4 separate regions of the Homo sapiens genome follow, and regions 1, 2 and 4 are each linked to region 3. The links are contacts of gene promoters, found by promoter capture Hi-C in blood cells and fetal thymus (Javierre and others, 2016). All regions are on one chromosome and are shown on one strand. The core of a region is centred on a gene start or on the middle of the fragment in contact, and the rest is flanking DNA. Distances in the headings are between cores, read along the strand shown. Region 1 overlaps SBNO1 (strawberry notch homolog 1). Region 2 overlaps SBNO1 (strawberry notch homolog 1). Region 3 holds the start of EIF2B1 (eukaryotic translation initiation factor 2B subunit alpha). Region 4 overlaps SBNO1 (strawberry notch homolog 1).

Region 1 (2,936 bases), core at 9-2,508, 310 kb before region 3:
TGATCATTTGTACTGTACAGAAGAAAAGGTTTCATATCCCATTTTCAAATATACTGAAATATTATATGCTTTCGTGTATATTTAATATACTGAACTTACCATTTTCATCATCCTCATTAGACTCATCTAAAAATGGGTTGAAATCGTCATCATCTCCAGAACTCATGTTTTTAGAGCTCTCATAGTCACTTTCTTCATTATCAGAGGCATCAGATTCACTTCCACTGTCGTCAGAACTGCTACCAGTAAGGCCACCTACTTTTCGTGCTTTTTTGGCTTCTCGAGTTATTTCTTCACCTACCCTCCGCCACAAACAAGAGAGTCAGCCCAAATTCAATGTTTCTTAAGATCCAGTACATCACATTTAGTTCATGAATTAATTCAAATGAAAAGTGCAGAGGAAAAGTATTTAGGTTAAGTCAAAAAACAAACAGAATTCACAAACCAGCACTAACCTTTTGGACTCCCATAAAAAATAAGGTTATAAACATTTATTCTGAAGAAGAAATTGGATACAAAAGTACTAAGTCAAGACTGCCTTCAAGTGCACAAGTTTCAAAACATATTCAGGACAACAGAGTAAAAGCAGAACCTCTGGCATAGTCACAATTTGACTGTGTATCAGATTTGAGAAGAGGCCTAATAATTACAGGTTTATAGACATGGAATACTTAGAAAATCAATAGAAAATCAATTTATAAAACCTTTTTATTTTTGGAGACAGGGCCTCACTGTTGCCCAGGCTGGAGTGCAGTGGCACAATCATAGCTCACTGCAGCCTCGACTTCCCTGGCTCATGTGATCCTCCCACCTCAGCCTCCCAAGTACCTGGGACTACAGGCACATGCAACCATGACCAGATATTTTTTTTTTTTCCCCAGACAGTGTCTACTCTGTCTCCCAGGCTAAAGTGCAGTGGCATAATCTTGGCTCACTGCAACCTCTGCCTCCCGAGTTCAAGTGATTCTAATGCCTCAGCCTCCCTTATAGCTGGGATTATAAGGCGCCCCTGCCGCCAGTCCTGGCTAAGTTTTTAATTTTTAGTAGAGAAGGGGTTTCGCCATGTTGGCCAGGCTGGTCTCGAACTCCTGACCTCAGGTGATCCGCCTGTTTCAACTCCCAAAAAGCTGGGATTACAGGCGTGAGCCACTGTGCCCGGCGAGAAGTCAACTTCTAAAACCAAAACAGGGCTGGGCGAGATGGCTCACACCTGTAATCCCAGCACTTTGGGAGGCCTAGGTGGGTGCATTGCTTAAGCTCAGGAGTTTGAGACCAGCCTGGCCAACATGGTGAAACCCCATCTCTACTAAAAATACAAAAATTAGCAGGGCGTGGTGGTGCATGCCTGTAATCCCAGCTCCTTGAACCCAGGAGGCAGAGGTTGCAGTGAGCCAAGATGGTACCACTGCACTCCAGCCTGGGTGACGGAGACGGAGACCCTGTCTCAAAAAAAAAAAAGAAAAAAAAAGAAAAGGCTCTTTTAAAGAAAACTACTGAAACACCCAGCTGTCTATATATTAAAGAACAGGTCTGACAATACAAAGACACAGGTTTTAGTTCCCATGCATCATTAACTATCTCTGTGAAACTAGGAAAACTCTTTAATCTTTAAATCTTTCTGTGCTTCAATGATCTCTGTCTATAAAATTGGAAAAATAAGACCTAATTTCGTATGGACCTCTGCCAGGTTATATGGTAGAATGTATATAGCCAAGTGCTTAACACACTGCCAACCACCAGTGAATTGCTCAATTCCTAATTTAAAACGGGGATAACTTGTGCATTCAAAATTGTACAAGTGACAGTGAAAATTTGGAACCATTTGTGAATTCATGGAAGGCAGTTCATTCCCAAAATATAGCCACTTTAAAATGCTTATGTTTTAATTTCAACAGTATTTTCAACGTCAACTATTTTCTTTTTTCTTTTTCTTTTTTGAGACAGAGTCTCGCTCTGTCATCCAGGCTGGAGTGCAGCAGCGCTATCTCGGCTCACTGCAAGCTCTGCCTCCTGGGTTCACGACATTCTCCTGCCTCAGCCTCCCGAGTAGCTGGGACTATAGGTGCCCACCACGATGCCCGGCTAATTTTTTGTATTTTCAGTAGAGATGGGGTTTCACCGTGTTAGCCAGGATGGTCTCGATCTCCTGACCTCGTGATCTGCCCACCTCAGCCTCCCAAAGTGCTGGGATTACAGGTGTGAGCCACCGCACCTGGCCTATTTTTTCTTTTTTAAAGTGCTCACCTTTCCGCTTCTTTATTTTATTTTCTTTACAAGGACTATCTCTTGGCGAACTGTTGTTACTTGGAGCTGTCAAATCGATTCCTAGTAAACTATAAAGTTTTTTCCTGTCTGGAGCAGGAAAATGTTTTTCAATGAGTGACTGCAACACACCTCTGTAGGAGAGAAACAGTGACAATTACTGCTTCAGTTGACAAAATAATTATATGTAAAGTATTATTAAATATATTGAAATATACTTTGTTCAGTTTTACAAAATACTGATAAACGAGCTCAAATAAATTTTAATTTTCTAGCCCAAAGCTGTCCAACTAAATAATAAGAATGCAAGCCAAACCACATACACAATTATTGTATTTTCTGGTAGCTTAAATTAAAAAAGTAAAAAATAAATAAAACTGGTGGAACTAATTTTAATAATACATTTTAACTCAATATACCATGTCAACACATATGTTTTATGTTATTTTCTCTTAAGGAGTCTTTGAAACCTGGCTCAGTACACATATAATAACATCTCAATATGGACCAGTCATTTCAACTGCTCAATAGCCACATGTGACAAGCGGCTGCCATTCTGGACACGGTAGTTCTAGGCAATTATGTACAGAAAAATATAGATTAGCAGGTGTATGTCTTGCTTTTTTCTTTTTTTTTTTTTTTTTGAGACCGAGTCTCTCTGTCACCCAGGCTGG
Region 2 (3,139 bases), core at 261-2,760, 340 kb before region 3:
GGACGGTGCCCTGCCACGTTGCGGCAGCCCAGATGGCCGCACTGCCAACCACAGCACGGCTTCCCCATGGGCGCCAGAGGGAGACTGAGCAAGGAGGGTCTGCGTGGAGGATGCACACTGGAGGCAATCTGTGACAGGCCCCAATTCACGACAAATTTAGTTCCCAAGACTGATCCAAATACAGAATGCTTTTACATTTTTCACCAAGTCTACCAAGTTGAATAGTAATGAATGAAACTTGTACATGAATGAAAAGGCCCCAAAGACGCTCACGGCAATCCTTGAAAGTTATAAAGGAACATTTTCTTACAGGTGCAAAATTGTGAACAAATACCCAATGTCTGCCTCCCGGGTGCTCAACACCATCATTTTGATGAACCATCCGGGTCTTCCCAACTCGAATTATTAAAAACGCCTCGATCCCGCTCTGCTTCTAGGCTTACGGCTGATGTAGACAAGATCCACTCACCGATACAAGGGTGGAGAGCACAGCCGTTCAGGGTACCCCAGGGACCAGTGCTGCAATGGGAATCTGCTTGTCTCACCCTCCAGCAGAGTCAGCCTAGGAGGCTCCAGAGCAGTTGCTTGGCTCTCTTTTGGAGGACAATTGTTCCTTAATGTACATTCTCTCTCTTTTTTTTTTTTCGAGACGGAGTCTCGGTCTGTTGCCCAGGCTGGAGTGCAGTGGCGCGATCTGGGCTCACTGCAAGCTCTGCCTCCCAGGTTCATGCCATTCTCCTGCCTCAGCCTCCTGAGTAGCTGGGACTACAGGCACCCGCCACCACGCCTGGCTAAGTTTTTTTTTTTTTTGTATTTTTAGTAGAGACGGGGTTTCACCGTGTTAGCCAGGAGATGGTCTCAATCTCCTGACCTCATGATCCGCCCGCCTCGGCCTCCCAAAGTGCTGGGATTACAGGCGTGAGCCACCGCACCCGGCCAATGTACATTCTCTAAAGTCACCTGTCAATAACACACTAGGCCTGCCTCCTGCCTGCTATAAATATCCTCAACAGGTTATAAACAGCAGCAGGCTACCTGTGTTCATTGCAAGTAAATTACTCATCATTTGTAGGTTAAAAGCATAGGCCCGACTTCTTAAATAAACATAGGGAATTTGCTGCAGCAGCAGGCCAGAAACCACTGTTTCAAATCTGCAAGATTTTCCTATCAGGTGGGAAGACAGAGATAAGAAATATGGTAAGGCCTGAAAAATTGCAAAAGTAGAAGCAAGTCAGGTTTGCTGATCTAAGAGCTAAGTTTGATCCCAAATGCACTGAAGAAGTTAGAGGAGCTTAAAGAAGTCTCAGGAAGCATTTTTTAAAATGTGAAAACATCAGGCTCACTATAGCTTCCAAAGAACAACATAAACGAGCATCAGCAGTCATACAATGACAGTATCAGAAATGGCACTCAAGTGCATCCCCCCAGTACAATGCATTGCACACAACACAATAAGACATAGTAAAAAACATTAACACAAAACAGGAATTCTACAGCAAAGATGCAAAACTGAATTCTAAAATACAGGAACAAATACTTTTCTAAATGAAAAGTTTTCCATACTTTTCTTAAAAAAAAAAAAAAAAAAAAGTCATAAGATGCCCCATATGGGAAAGTCAAGAAAAGAATAAATAGAGCTGAAGGGAAGAGGGAAAAGGGAGAAACAGGTGGGCAGAGTCCCAATTTACAAGAATTATTTACATTCAGAATCCAGAAGAACTCAACATTTCTCTATATATACATTTATGTACATATATATAAATACAGCACAAAATTAGAGGGTGGGTTTTGGATTTTATCTCAAGTACTCAAAAAAAAAATGCTAGCGAGCTTGAGTTGCAGGTATTTAGGTGTGTTTCTGTCACTTAAAAGACACTGCATTTGTATCAGACAACTGGCATTCAATGAGACATTTTTTTTTTTTTTTGCAGTTTTTGCTCTCAGCTGTAGCCCTGACATGAAACGCTTGCTACGTTTCTGCAGCAAAGTGGGCCGAGCGCAGTACGCACAGGTGTGGTGTTAGCCAGGGAGACCGAAGCCACACAGAAGGGGAGTCAGTAAATGTCCATCTCCACGGTGTCTGCCTTTGCCATTGGGAGGCCTGAACTAATCAAACGTTCATTAATAGGATCCCAGCCTAACAGCAACGCTTATGTAGCACCATTCTTAGAAACTACCAAGTATCACACAGGTACATGTGTATGGGGACCTTCCTCTTGACTGCTTGTCAAGAAAAGGATCCAGAGGGAACTTCTGCCCCTACTTCCATGAAGTGAGATGCAACAATCATTTCCAATCTATTTTTTTATCTCATGCTAAAATGAAAGTGGAGGGGAGAGGGAAGAAGGCTCCCATTCTACAATTATAAATGCTGTCCTGGTAGCCTTTCTTCTCTTGCCGGCTAACAATTGTTCTAACAGCATCCCATGGAGGCCAGCAAATGAATGCCCCAGGGACTACAGCCAGAAAATTGTGCCTGTAAAATATCATATTCCTCTGGAGCTTGGTAATATAGAAATTTTACCTCTACAGATGAGGCAAACTAAAATATTGTTGTAACTCAAAAAGGCTTCTGAAGTGCTGAGTTAGAATAAATATATATAGATACATACACACACTACATTGCTTTGGATGCAGGTTCTTACTAATTTATATACACATGTAAAGAGAAGATACTGAAGTGTCTAACTGTAATTTAGCAGCAGAAAAAGAAAACTGCTTAACATATTTGCTTCTTAATCAAGTTGTGTTTAAAGAAATGCATTAATACTCCTATGAATTTGTATCATTGATAGTGTATCTGGATAATCCCAGTAACTACAGACAGAGACCTTGTGGTATGGAGGTTGCTAAATGAGGGGAACACTAATTCCCCCAGAGATAACATCTGAGCTGCTTTAGACTCTGGAAGTGGTTTTCAGTACAATTGACGCTGTAAACTCTGAAAACACGAACATGATTTCCAACCAAATCTTTGTGCTCAGAGCCATATTGCTAAAAAGAAAAAGGCATTGCAGAGGCAAAGTGGACATGGGGTTAATTAAACAAGGCCTCTGAATTCAGGTGTGGCATTTAGATCCTGCAATGAATGGACCTATTTTACAGAAGTCAGCGGCAAATTTTTTGTATTTTTTGGTAC
Region 3 (2,950 bases), core at 127-2,626:
AGTCCCAGAGTGTTAACAGATGACTCTCTATATACCTTTATCTCTCTTCAAGAACTCCAGCAACGTCCGGATGGCAGCCACTGCTGAGGCCATGTCAGGATCTTCTTTCATCTGAGACTTAAAGTATTCAATTAACTCTGGAAAAAGGGAAAAAAGTGATTCACCTAATTCATTTAGCAGCCTATAAGGCAAGAGAGCTTGTTAATGACTGTTGACTTTAAGAAGCAAACAATTTAAAAAATACTTTCTTTTTAGGGTATTTGGTTTCAGGGATGCAATAAATGTTGATGGGAATAGAGAAAATACCACTTTGCTGTTTGCAAGAGCTCTTTTTTATTTTGAAAAAGCTACTGGTGGCCGGGCGCGGTGGCTCACGCCTGTAATCCCAGCACTTTGGGAGTCCGAGGCGGGCGGATCACGAGGTCAGGAGATCGAGACCATCCCGGCTAAAACGGTGAAACCCCGTCTCTACTAAAAATACAAAAAATTAGCCGGGCGTAGTGGCGGGCGCCTGTAGTCCCAGCTACTTGGGAGGCTGAGGCAGGAGAATGGCGTGAACCCGGGAGGCGGAGCTTGCAGTGAGCCGAGACTGCGCCACTGCACTCCAGCCTGGGTGACAGAGCGAGACTCCGTCTCAAAAAAAAAAAAAAAAAAGCTACTGGTGTGCAAGGCCTAAAAATTAAGCCCGAGTAAATGATGATGAAAAGTCATTCTCTCTTCAGCCTCTTTGGTCCTAAAATCTGAGAGGATCCCAGAGTCAACCATCTTGCCAATTTCTCCTGCACCCCTCCAGACAGTCTATGCTAATACATGTCTATTCACATACACATATATGTTACAAATATTATACATGGAGTTCCACCCACTCCCCTTTATTTCTTTACATGAAAAGTGTATTAGTTTGCCCTTGTTTTTCACTTAATAACCATACTAGATGAGCACATCAAATATGCCTTATTCATTCTAATTTTAATGACAGATCCAACAAGGCAGGAAGGAGACTGGCACTGGGAAGGAGCGTATGTGTGGGAGGGATGCCTGCAGATACTGCCAGGGCGCATCCCTGAAAACAAGAGCAGCGCGAGGGATTTAGTTGTGACTCTGGAAACACAACCAGCGGAGCAGCCTGAAATTCAAAAGAAATCTCTTCGGGAGCTCAGCCTGGATGTGAGAGGTTGGGGGGACCCCTGAACGGCGCTGCTGTAGCCTAGCAGCCCTGGCCTGTCTTGATTTACCCTTGTCGTCCATGGCGTCCTCCTGCTGCGGAGCCCCAGGGGACCCGAGCCGCCCGCGCTGTCTCGAACGGGTCCGCCGGCCGCGCCGCCTGCGAGCCAGTCTGACAGCGCGCTGCACACCTCCGCACCCCACTTCCGGCGCACTTCCGTACCCCTCTTCCGGCGCACTCCCCGCACTCCACTTCCGCAGATTAGGGGGCTGGCACGAGTCACAGCACCTCGTGCGTCACTTGGCGGCGCCGGACGTTGGGCTGCGCAGGATTTGAGACGCTCCCCTGACCACCACTTGCTCTGCGCTGAGGTGCTGGGACAGCCATGGTTTCAGACGGTGAGGACCCTGCAGGGCGGGACTTCGACTCCGGGGCTCGGCTGTCTCGGTCCGGCTACGACTGGCCAGATGGAATGTGTCTTTTGGGCTGGATAGAATCCGTTTGGTCTTTAGAGGAGTAGCCAAGGCATTCAGTCATTCATTCAGTAAATAGTTTTGGATCGCCTCCTGTGTACAGGCATTATTTTCTGGATTTTAGCAGAGATCGTGACAGACAGGGGCCTTAGTGGAGGTTACAGTCTACTGGGTGAAACAGATGACAATAAATAAAAATAATTTCGGCCGGGTCGCACCCCGGTGGATTAGGCCTGTAATCCCAGCACTTTGGGAGGCCGAGGAGGGAGAATCGCTTGAAGCCGGGAGTTCGAGACCTGCCTGGGCAACACAGCCAGACCCCATCTCTACAAAAAAAATGAAATATTAGCCGGGCGTGGTAGCGCGTGTCTGTGGTCCCAGCTACGCGGGAGGCTGAGGCGGGAGAATCACTTGAGCCCAGGAATTCGAGGCTTCAGTGAGCTATTATGGCAGTACTGCACCCAGCATGGCCGACAGGGCATGACCTCGTCAATAAAAAATTAAAAAATAAATTATTTTTCAAAGGATGAAAAGAGCTATGAAGATGATGTAACAGTACGGTCCTAGTTACAATAGTACATTGTGACTAGGATTGAGGAGGAGCTGTTTTAGATAGGGGCCTAGGAAAAGTGCAGGATATTGAAACCGACTTGAATGATTATGTGAAGTTCTGGGGGAAGTGCACTTTAAGTGCATGGGCCCTGTGGCAGATTGAGCCACCAAGTTACACTGAGAAGGGAGAAATGGAGAGCTTGCGGGTAGAGGATGGTGGGGAGACTCATTCATACATTAAACTACCACATACAGAGTCAGATGTCTTGAAGATTTAAAAGGAGGCTAGAGGGATGAGATCAGAGAACCAGCCAGTTTCAGGTCATGCAGGGCCTTATTGGCCGTGATAGAGAAGTTGGCCTTTATTTTTAGGTGCAATACAAAGACATTGTAGAGTTTTAAGCCAGAAAGTGTTATGATCTGGTTTGCAATTTTAAAAGATCACTGTGGCTGTTGTGTGGAAAATGGACTGTGGGGAGCAAGAATAGAGATAGGGGAGTCCTTTCAGGAACTGTAATAATTGTCCATCCTCTCTTAATTGATGTGAAACCATACCACAACCCTGTGAGGGAGGCAGGCCTGGCATTGCTCCTGTCTACAAATGAGGTAGCGAACTAAAGAAGGAAATTCACAGGGTCATTGCATGTGTATAGATGCACACCTTTCTTTACAGGCAACGCTTTTTCTGTCTGGCAGACACAGTTGTATTAAGTGCTTCTGTCCTAGGTGCTTTGTTGTGTGATTTACACATTTTTTTGTT
Region 4 (3,071 bases), core at 460-2,959, 290 kb before region 3:
ACTGTCTCCAATTCCATATTCTAGAACCAAGTCCCAAAATTCTTTTGGTATCGTTATGTACAGTCATCTCTTTTTTTCCTTTCCCCTCTCCGTTTTTCAATCCCCTCTGCAAGGTCTCTAGTACCCCTTCTTACTTCCCCCTTAGGTTAACCAACTTTCCAACCTCTCTCTTTTGCCTACTCCTACTCATCCCGAATCTGTCTTCCCTACCCCTTTACTCAGTCTGCACCCCAACTTCTCCTGAATCACTAACAGGTCCCTCCATGTCTACTGGCTCAATGGTGCTAGACTAAGTCCAAAGTCCTTCAAACTCAATTCAGCACAGGGCACCTTGGCCTCCCAGCACTTTGGGAGGCCGAGCTGGAGGGATCACTTGAGGTCAGGTATTCGAGACCAGCCTGGCCAATGTGGTAAAACCCCGTCTCTACTAAAAACACAAAAATTAGCCAGGGCTGGTGGTGGGCACCTGTAATCCCACCTACTCAGGAAGCTGAGGCAGAAGAATCGCTCGAACCTGGGAGGCGGAGATTGCAGTGAGCCAAGATTGCACCACTACACTCCAGCCTGGTCAACAGAGCAAGACTCCATCTCAAAAACAACAACAACAATAAAAACCTCAATTCAGGACCCTCCATGGAGCCCAGACCTACTATTCCCACTTCTTTCTACAAGCTAAGCTTCCTGGCTTATTTTCACCGAAGCACATACTCACTACCTCCCCTCTGTGCCCATTAATCCTTTAGCTCCCTTCCTAATATCCCACCTCAAAGTCTCGTCATACTCAAAACCCAAGCTCCATTATTCCCTCTCCATAAAGTCCACCAGGCCACTAGAGTTCAGGAAGGTCACCTCTTCCTCCAAATTCCTAACCTTTATTGTGAGTAGCACATTGCATACCATTTGATGTACTTTTCATTATTACTACTTAATCCAGATGGTTGTCAAATTTTGCTTACTGAAGGTAGAATCATGTAATAAATATACTTCTTGTAGAAACCTACTACATATTAACAATGTTATACATGGAGAATTTATTAAATAAATGTATGGAATCAATTGATCCAAAGCATACAGCATTTTCAAAATGTTAAGAATTCTAACCAGGCCGGGTGCAGTGGCTCACGCCTGTAATCTCAGCACTTTCGGAGGCTGAGGCGGGCAGATTACCTGAGGTCAGGAGTTCGAGACCATCCTGGCCAACATGGTGAAACCCCATTTCTACTAAAAATACAAAAATTAGCCAAGCATGGTGGCACATGCCTGTAATCCCAGCTACTTGAGAGGCTGAGGTGGGAGAATCACTTGAACCTGGGAGGTGGAGGTTACAGTGAGCCAAGATAGCACCACTGCACTCCAGCCTGGGCGATAAGAGTAAGACTCTGTCTCAAAAAAAAAAAAAAAAAAAAAAAAGAATCACTCATAACCAGATCATTATATGATCTGTCAATGCATTATGAGCTTTCTATTCAAGTTCGGTCCTAAAATGAACACAGTTATCAAATACTTTTCGTTAACCCCACATTGTCTTTTTTTCTGCTCAGATGAGATTTTTAACAGTAAGATATCAGTACTGCATGTTAGTGCCACACTCCATCAATCTGCAAGTTTTAACCACCCTGGTTAGTATCTATATTACTCCAGCGAGGTTTAAGCATATCCATTAGTTCCCACGCCTGTATAGCTTCTTCCCAACCCAAAAACAGCTTTCTGAGGGTTGTTCCATATAGAACACTTTTAGTTGAGTACACTCTCATACTACACAAAAATAAAGACACAGTTATTTGAAACTCACCATGGTTGGGGAAAAACTCCTCATCTTCATGTCGTTTATCCACATTCTAGCTCCTTCTTTATTAGAAGACTCTTTCTTTACTGTACCATTGCTTACATCAGCTGAGGAGGAAAAAGTCAAATTACATTTAGAAGAAAATTCTGAACTTATTTTCCCATTATTTAAAAATCCAGAAGTTTAAGGCTGCTGCGGTGGCTCACACCTGTAATCCCAGCATTTTTGGGACACCAAGGCGGGTGAATTACAAGGTCAGGAGTTCAAGACCAGCCTGGCCAAGATTGTGAAACCGCATCTCTACTAAAAATACAGAAACAAGCTGGGCGTGGTGGCGGGCACCTGTAATCCCAGCTACTCGGGAGACTGAGGCAGAGAATTGCTTGAACCTGGGAGGTGGAGGTTGAAATGAGCCGAGATTGCACCACTGCACTTCAGCCTGGGTGACAGAACAAGACTTTGTCTAAAAAAATAAAAATAAAAAACCCAGAAGTTTACATATTTCAAAAACCAAAGAATGTCAATCTGCCTATAACTAATTTATTTTTATTTATTTATTTTTGGAGTTTCACTCTTGTTGCCCAGGATGGAGTGCGTTGGCGCAATCTCAGCTGACTGCAACCTCCTCCTCCCGAGTTCAAGCGATTCTCCTGCCTCAGACCCCCAAGTAGCTGGGATTACAGGAATGCGCCACCATGCCTGCCTAATTTTGTAATTTTTTTTTTAAGTAAAAACGGAGTTTCTCCATGTTGGTCAGGCTGGTCTTGAACTCCCAACCTCAGGTGATCTGCCCACTTTGGCATCCCAAAGTGCTGGGATTACAGGCGTGAGCCACCGCACCTGGCCTCTATTACTAATTTAAATTAAGCACAGGCATGAAAACATGTAAACCCATGTGTCTTTATGGAAGTAAAGAATTAACTTTAGAAAACAACTCAAAAGGAACGTGTGCAAGGGAAGCTTGAAAATTATTTATCAGAAAGATACCCAAAAGCCAGCATTACTTTGAGACACTTCATTTGACTCATTAAAAATAAACAAGGCCGGCGCAGTGGCTCACGCCTGTAATCCCAGCACTTTGGGAGGCCGAGGAGGCCCAGTCTCTACTAAAAATACAAAATTAGCCGGGCATGGTGGCGCATGCTCATAATCCCAGCTACTTGGGAGGCTGAGGCAGAGAACTGCTTGAACCCGGGAGGCGGAGGCTGCAGTGAGCTGAGATTGCATCATTGAACTCCAGCCTGGGCAACAAGAGTAAAACTCTGTCTCAAAAAAATTAATTAAT

Evidence for each region. Contacts are between HindIII fragments. The CHiCAGO score rates a contact against its expected background, and 5 or more counts as called.
Region 1: a fragment that was not itself captured here is called in contact with the fragment with the promoter of EIF2B1 in region 3 in 3 of 17 cell types (M2 macrophages, M1 macrophages and erythroblasts); the score reaches 7.5 in M2 macrophages.
Region 2: a fragment that was not itself captured here is called in contact with the fragment with the promoter of EIF2B1 in region 3 in 2 of 17 cell types (naive CD4 T cells and M1 macrophages); the score reaches 5.8 in naive CD4 T cells.
Region 4: a fragment that was not itself captured here is called in contact with the fragment with the promoter of EIF2B1 in region 3 in 1 of 17 cell types (non-activated CD4 T cells); the score reaches 5.1 in non-activated CD4 T cells.

Annotation. Positions count from the first base shown.
Region 1 is chr12:123,321,436-123,324,371 of GRCh38, forward strand. It overlaps SBNO1 (strawberry notch homolog 1), which reads right to left. Exons shown (of 32, transcript NM_001167856.3): 16 at 2,245-2,396; 17 at 100-297. Among named protein-coding and RNA genes, the nearest start is that of MIR8072, 42 kb to the right of the region's middle. The HindIII fragment of the contact is 5,710 bases long and covers 1-2,936 here.
Region 2 is chr12:123,290,110-123,293,248 of GRCh38, forward strand. SBNO1 (strawberry notch homolog 1) reads right to left here. Exons shown (of 32, transcript NM_001167856.3): 32 at 1-3,139. Among named protein-coding and RNA genes, the nearest start is that of CDK2AP1, 20 kb to the left of the region's middle. The HindIII fragment of the contact is 3,566 bases long and covers 1-3,139 here.
Region 3 is chr12:123,632,310-123,635,259 of GRCh38, forward strand. EIF2B1 (eukaryotic translation initiation factor 2B subunit alpha) reads right to left here and starts at 1,377. Exons shown (of 9, transcript NM_001414.4): 1 at 1,236-1,377; 2 at 36-137. The coding sequence starts at 1,248. GTF2H3 (general transcription factor IIH subunit 3) reads left to right here and starts at 1,520. Exons shown (of 13, transcript NM_001516.5): 1 at 1,520-1,563. The coding sequence starts at 1,551. RefSeq lists an enhancer at 1,404-1,593. The HindIII fragment of the contact is 11,619 bases long and covers 1-2,950 here.
Region 4 is chr12:123,339,196-123,342,266 of GRCh38, forward strand. SBNO1 (strawberry notch homolog 1) reads right to left here. Exons shown (of 32, transcript NM_001167856.3): 5 at 1,793-1,893. Among named protein-coding and RNA genes, the nearest start is that of MIR8072, 24 kb to the right of the region's middle. RefSeq lists a silencer at 1,973-2,196. The HindIII fragment of the contact is 2,069 bases long and covers 676-2,744 here.